2 separate regions of the Homo sapiens genome follow, and region 1 is linked to region 2. Evidence: promoter capture Hi-C in 16 types of primary human blood cells and fetal thymus (Javierre and others, 2016). All regions are on one chromosome and are shown on one strand. Each heading gives the region's core, a stretch centred on a gene start or on the middle of the fragment in contact. The rest is flanking DNA. Distances are from core to core; before and after follow the strand shown.

Evidence for each region. The method cuts DNA at HindIII sites, captures the fragments that hold promoters and counts their contacts. A CHiCAGO score of 5 or more calls a contact.
Region 1: a contact is called between a fragment that was not itself captured here and the fragment with the promoter of TFAM in region 2, in 1 of 17 cell types (non-activated CD4 T cells). The highest score is 6.6, in non-activated CD4 T cells.

Annotation. Positions count from the first base shown.
Region 1 is chr10:56,360,891-56,364,299 of GRCh38, reverse strand. LOC124902546 (a long non-coding RNA gene) reads right to left here and starts at 2,841. Exons shown (of 2, transcript XR_007062372.1): 1 at 2,444-2,841; 2 at 1-275. ZWINT (ZW10 interacting kinetochore protein) reads left to right here and starts at 3,041. Exons shown (of 9, transcript NM_007057.4): 1 at 3,041-3,104. The coding sequence starts at 3,064. RefSeq lists a silencer at 2,774-2,983 and enhancers at 3,074-3,243, 2,592-3,331. The HindIII fragment of the contact is 811 bases long and covers 853-1,663 here.
Region 2 is chr10:58,384,160-58,387,279 of GRCh38, reverse strand. TFAM (transcription factor A, mitochondrial) reads right to left here and starts at 1,870. Exons shown (of 7, transcript NM_003201.3): 1 at 1,632-1,870; 2 at 942-1,060. The coding sequence starts at 1,732. RefSeq lists enhancers at 1,470-2,126, 2,320-2,419 and a silencer at 1,810-2,189. The HindIII fragment of the contact is 8,486 bases long and covers 1-3,120 here.

The DNA of each region.
Region 1 (3,409 bases), core at 9-2,508, 2.0 Mb after region 2:
AGTGGCACGATCTTGGCTCACTGCAACCTCCACCTCCCAGGCTCATGCCATTCTCCCGCCTCAGCCTCCCGAGTAGCTGGGACTACAGGTGCCCGCCACCACGCCTGGCTAATTTTTGTATTTCTAGTGGAGACGGGGGATTTCACTGTGTTAGCCAGGATGGTCTTGATCTCCTGACCTCGTGATCTGCCCACCTCGGCCTTCCAAAGTGCTGGGATTATAGGTGTGAGCCACTGCATCCAGCCTAGTTAGTCTTCATTTTTGAAAGCTGTTTGCTGGAAACAGAAATCAAGGTTGACTTTTTTTTATTCTTACAGTACTTGAAAGATGTTACTCTACTGTCTTGCTTGCATTGTTCCAAGAAGAAATTTCCCGTAATCCTTATCTTTGTTTCTATGTAACATGTGCCCCAACACCCCTTATTACTTTAGAATTTTTTATCAATGGTTTTGAGTTATGCAATTATGGTATAACTTGATGTCATTTTCTTAATATTTCTTGTGTTTGAGATTTGTGAAGCTTCTTGAATATATGAATTTATATTTTTCATCACATTTCAAATTTTTTGGTCTTTATTACTTGTTTTCTTGTCCTCTCCCCTTGCCTCTCTGAGACTCCACTTTCAAGTATATTATTAGGCTGTTAGAAGTTGTCTCACAGCTCACCATTGATTTGTTCATGTTACTTTATTTTCATTTTTTAATGTTGTGATTGATTTTGGGTAGTTTCTCTAGAGCTGTGTTTCACTTTCATTCTGCAATGTGTAACATACTATATTAATACCATCTAATTCCATCTATCACATTGTAGTGTTCACCTCTACAAGTTTGATTTAGGTCTTTATTACAAGCTTTGTGTCTTTGATTAACTTTTTTAACAGCTTTTATGACAGCAGTAAAGTGTAAATTTAGCGGTTTTCTGTATAGAATTGTACAACCTTCACCATAACCGAAGTGTAGAACATTTTATTTATCCCTTTAAAAGAAACACTATATCCATTTGCAGTCCCTCCCCATACTCTCTCAACCTCTCATTCCCACCAATCCCCAGCCCTGGACAAGCACTATATAAATTTACTTTCTGTTGCTATAGATTTGTCAAATCTAGACATTTCACATAAATGAAATAATATATTATGTGGTCTTTTGTAATTAGCTTCTTTCACTTAGTATATTTTCAAGGTTCATATTTTAGCATGTAGTAACCATTATTTAGCATGTAATAAAGTTCTCTTTACTACTGATTAATACTTCATTGAATGAAAGTATGCATTTTCACTCACCAGCTAATGGGCCTTTGGGTTGTTTTTACCTTTCAGCTTTTGTGAATAATGCTGCTATAGAGGTTTGTGTACTTTTGTGTCCCCATGTTTTTATTTGTCTTGGATATATAACTAGGAATGAAATTGTGACTCATATGGTAACCCTACGTTCAAAGCCTATGCACCAGTTTACATTTCCATCAACATGAGAATTCCACTTTCTTTACATCCTTAGCACCACTTACCTTTTTCATTATAGTTCTGATATCTTTTTGAAGATATGGGATATAGTTACAATAACTGTTTTAATGTCCTTGCCTGTTGATTCTAACATTACTTCAGTTCTGATCAGCAATTGATTTTTCTCCTCATTATGTGTTTTTTTTTTTCTTTTTGCAAGCTTGGTAATTTTTCTTTGTATGACATATGTAAATTGCACCTTTGGTGAACATTTTTCTATTTCTATAAATACTGCTGAAGTTTGGTCTTGTCATCTGTCATGGTTTGTTAAGTTTGATCCATTTGGGTCTTACTTTTAAGAGTTAGATGGCACTACAGCACTGATCAGCTAGGACTAATTACTGCCTACTAAATAATTAGTAAACAACTATCAAATCAAGACTTTTTTGTGTGTACTCTGTCCAGTGTCCTACGGACTATGAAGTTTTCCAGCCTGGTTAGTGGAAATAGAGACTATTTCTGACCCTCTGTAATGTCCATATATATATATTTATATATATATATATATGTATTTTTTTTTTTTTGTGAGACGGAGTCTCGCACTGTCACCAGGGCTGTAGTGCTGTGGCGCAATTTCGGCTAACTGCAACCTCAGCCTCCCTGGTTCAAGCAATTCTCCTGCCTCAGCCTCCCGAATAGCTGGGATTACAAGCGCCCACCACCACGCCCAACTAATTTTTTTTGTACTTTTAGTAGAGACGGGGGTTTCACCATGTTGGCCAGGCTGGTCTCAAACTCCTGACCTCGTAATTCACCTGCCTCAGACTCACAAAGTGCTGGGATTACAGACGTGAGCCACCGCGACCGGCCATGTCCTGGTATCTTTAAAAATCTTTTAGCTAGTTTCTTGAGACACATACTGCTCAGTACTCAGCTGAATGAATACCAAGTTCTCTCTCAGCAGTTATCTTTCTCCTGTACTCTGCAAAGAACATTACCTACCTTGGTCTCCCCAGAATATCTGTTCTATTTTGCCAACGCAGGCAATCGGCTGGGCTCTGCTTGAGTTCACTCTCCTGCATCGCATCTATAAAATACTAATATCTTTGAAAGCAGCTCGCTTTTTGAGCGCAGATCATTTGCTTCCTGTATCTCCCGGATCACTATTCTTTACTGATTCCCAGCGTCTTAGAAACAGCCCCACTGTTTTTCGGGGTTTTGTTTTTTTTTTTCTACAGCAGTAGTGAATATTTTAAATAAAGTGTCAATGCTGTAAGTTTCCCTTAAAACGCAAACTCAAGGAAATGCTTTCCCTTTTTCGAGTAGAGAAAGAACTTCCACAGGCGCGCGGTCGAGCTCAAGCCCACTTATAGTCTCTGGCACCGCGTAAGGACTAGCGCGCAGGCGCAGAGCCCGTGCGCGCCTAGCCATAACCGCGCTTGCGCCAAGCAGCGAGGCCCGCCAACGAGCGAATCCGCGCCTGCCAATTAGAGCGCACAATGGTCCTTGATGCCCGCCCACTAACCTCTGCAGCCAATCGCCTGCCCCGGCGCGAAGTCGACTGTGACTTCAAAGTAATCTTAGGGATTGTGGGAAGGCAGCTGAACTCGGCGCCTGGAAAGATGGAGGCAGCGGAGACAGAGGCGGAAGCTGCAGCCCTAGAGTAAGTGTTTGCGGCTAAGTGGCAGCTGGGGCCGGGCCTGGGAGGACCTTGTGGGCCCCTATGTGTAATGATTGGTGCCCTCGACCCTGTACAGCTGTTGAGGTTCGACCCTGCCGTGAAGTGATCCTCACCGCAGTCCCGTCTTAGGTTCCTGAGGTGTCTGTTGCCTGCTCCAGGAGTACAGCCTTTGGGGGACCGTTCGCCGCTCCCCACATCCACATAATCCACAGGATGTGCTCTAGGAGACGGTTTCACTTCTGTCTTCTTGTCCCAACACGACACATTCCCAGTCACTTCTCATCCCC
Region 2 (3,120 bases), core at 621-3,120:
AATTATTATTGTTTTTTGAGACAGGGTCTCGCTCTGTCACCCAGGCTGGAGTGCAGTGGAGCAGTCATGGCTCACTGCAGCCTCAACTTCCTGGGATCCAGTGATCCTCTCACCACAGCCTCCCAAGTAGCTGGGACTACAGGCACTGCGCCCCCATGCCCACCTCATTTTTGTATTTTTGGTAGAGACAGGATTTCCATGTTTCCCAGGCTGTTCTCGAACTCCTGGGCTCAAGCAATCCACCCATCTCGACCTCCCGAAGTGCTGGGATTACAGGTGTGAACCACCTCACCCAGCCTGATGTGAGCATTTTTTATTCTCGCCGAGAGGCTTTCTAGAGAGTCAACAAACATCCTACCTGGAAATGTTTTTTTTTTAGGAACCCAAGACAAGAAAGGATTTATCCTTTACAACCCACCATCCCCTTGGCAAGGTCGAGGTCTGAATCAAAGAACCAGAGTGGCTCTGAACTCCTATGATGAAAAGGTTTATCCTTTCTTATCTTGAAAGCTCTTGAAATTAGCAGTAAATTGCATAGAACTTTACAGTTCTACAGAACTTACAGTTTATGGATGCTTCCACAGAAGTTGCAACTTTATTAACAATTCCCTGAGCCAGAAAAAGGAGGAGCTAGGCAAGAGAAAATAATTCATCAGTGGTCCTCTAGACCAAAGGCAACAAGGCCCCAAATTCAGCTTTTTTATCCTCTTCCTAGGGTGCTTTCTACACTATACGTTATTTTTAAAATACCATTTACTAGTTCTCATTTATATTTAAAGCATTTCCATTTGGTATAAAATAGAACTTCCTATTTTACAGACATCAAATGATTGTTCCTGCAGTCACTGAATGCTTTAGCACTGCAATTCAACATTGGTATTTAACTGCTTAATGGCATTTTTATTACATGAGAAAAGGGTATATGCCCCAAAACTCCTTACCTGGGTTCTGAGCTTTAAATATGGGTAGTTGTTCTTTAGAAAATCGAAGGTAAGAACTTACAGGTTTCTTTGGACAACTTGCCAAGACAGATGAAAACCACCTCGGTAAATACACAAAACTACATATAAACAAAAAGAAAATAACCAGTGTCAGATGTTTAACTGTCAATATTCACATGTATATGAACACAGATCCCAAATAAGAAATGTCATCAAGATACTATGTATCCAACGCCTTCAACAAGAATGCTAGAGACTTATTAAAACCCTGTCCTAAACGGAGGGGAGCGTCTGCAGGACTGAAGTCTCAAAGCCCTTACCTCCTAGGAAGGGCAGGGAGTGAAGGAAAGCGTCTATACTCCAGCTCCTGGGCCCCGCCTCCTCAATGCCTAGATGATGGCCGGAGACTCGGCGCGAATTCGCAGAGGAGGCGGAAAGGATCCAAAGCTGGACAGTGAGGAGGGATGGGAGAAGCGAGTGGAGGGTAGCAAGAAGGTACGGCGTATTAAGAGAGTAAATAAAGGCCTGGTCTCAAGGCCACCGTCCCCTTGGCAAGGTCGCGGTCTGAATCAAAGAACCAGGGTGACTCTGAACTCCTAGGAGGGGCAGAAAGTGAAGGATAGGGTCTACATTCCAACCCCGGGACGTCCTGGGCCCTGCTGCCCCTAGGGCACAGGCAAGCGGGCCTACCTGAAGGGGGAGCGCAGTCGACTTCCACAGCCGGTGCACAGCTCTGCTCCAGACCTTCCCAGGGCACTCAGCACGCCCCACATGCTTCGGAGAAACGCCATCGCTCCGGTGGATGAGGCAGTGACCCGACCCCAATCTCGGAGAGCCTCCTGGCAATACACAACTCCAGCAATCACAACTGGAACCCGCGTGCGACCCTCCGGCGTGTGTTATCATGCCCGCCACTAGCGAGGCACTATGGGAAATCTGCTAACATCCGGTCGGTAGATGGGGGCGGGGCGGGGCGGAATTGGCGCAGGCGCGGGAGAGCGTACCCCGGTGGGCGGCCTTGCGGGGGAGGAATAAGAGCCGCGGAGATGAAGGGAAACCGCAATCCTCTAGCCTGCGGAGGGCTCTGGCTTCGAGGCGGCGCTGTTGAGCCACCTCTGTCCCCGGCCGCCCGGAGCAGTGGGTTCCTCTGCCGGGCCAGGAGGGTGATGGAGGGACCGCGGCGGCGGCCTCACCCCAACCCGGCGTTGGCCGGTGTCCGCCCGTGACGGTCACAAGGGCTGTACGTAACAGACAGTCCTGCATCCAGGACCCCGAGGTCCGATCGGCGGCTGCTGCGCGCCCAGCGGAGCGTCTCAGTTCAAGCCAGGGCTGGAGCTCGGAGTTCAGAAATAGTAACGGGAGAGGCGGGGATTCGCAAACCTAAAAATGCAGATTCCAAGGCCTTACCGCAGAGCTTAATTCCGTGTGTCTATGTGGGGCCCATTAATCTTCATTTTAGCGAGTTCCCCAGAATTTAACAAGTTCTAATGTCGGTGGTCTTGAGACCACATTTAAAGCAATATAGCTTTAGACTGTTTATTCTACCATCTACTGCAGTCTTTCAGTCTGGCCTCCAGCTTGCTTAATTTGAGCAGAGGAAACTGGCTAGTTGTCCACAGTCGCTAGTCTCAATTCTTCTAGTTCCAGTATTAACATTAACGTCTTGACTTGGGAATATTGCATTCCCTCGTTAAGATTCAGTTTCCCCCTCTGCAAACGAGGATGTTAGACTAAATCAGTTTTCCCAGCCAAAGCCCTGAGAACGTGTGACAAGTATGCCTTGAGACATTGATGTGTCAAAAATTGCTGTATAATTTTTTTATTTGTGTTATAGAAATACCATTTTCTGTATAGGCAATGGCATGAAAAAGATTAGGAAGACCTAAAGATACCTAAGGGTCCTTCCAGCCCTTAAATACCAGTTGTTTCAGAGCTAACCACCTTCTGAGACAGCCTTTCTTCTGTTGGATAGCCGTAATTGTTAGAAAATTCTTACCAGTGTCATATTGAGCTGACAGTCTATTTACCTTTCTGTAACTATGAAAACATTGGCTCTCTGGAAGTAGGACTAAGCCTACTTCTTCTTTTAAGCGGTAATAACCACTTCCCTTTTATAGACTCCCAGGGTTGAAAGGGACCTTCCAAGTCATCTGTTCAAACCTCCCATTCTGGCATGGAA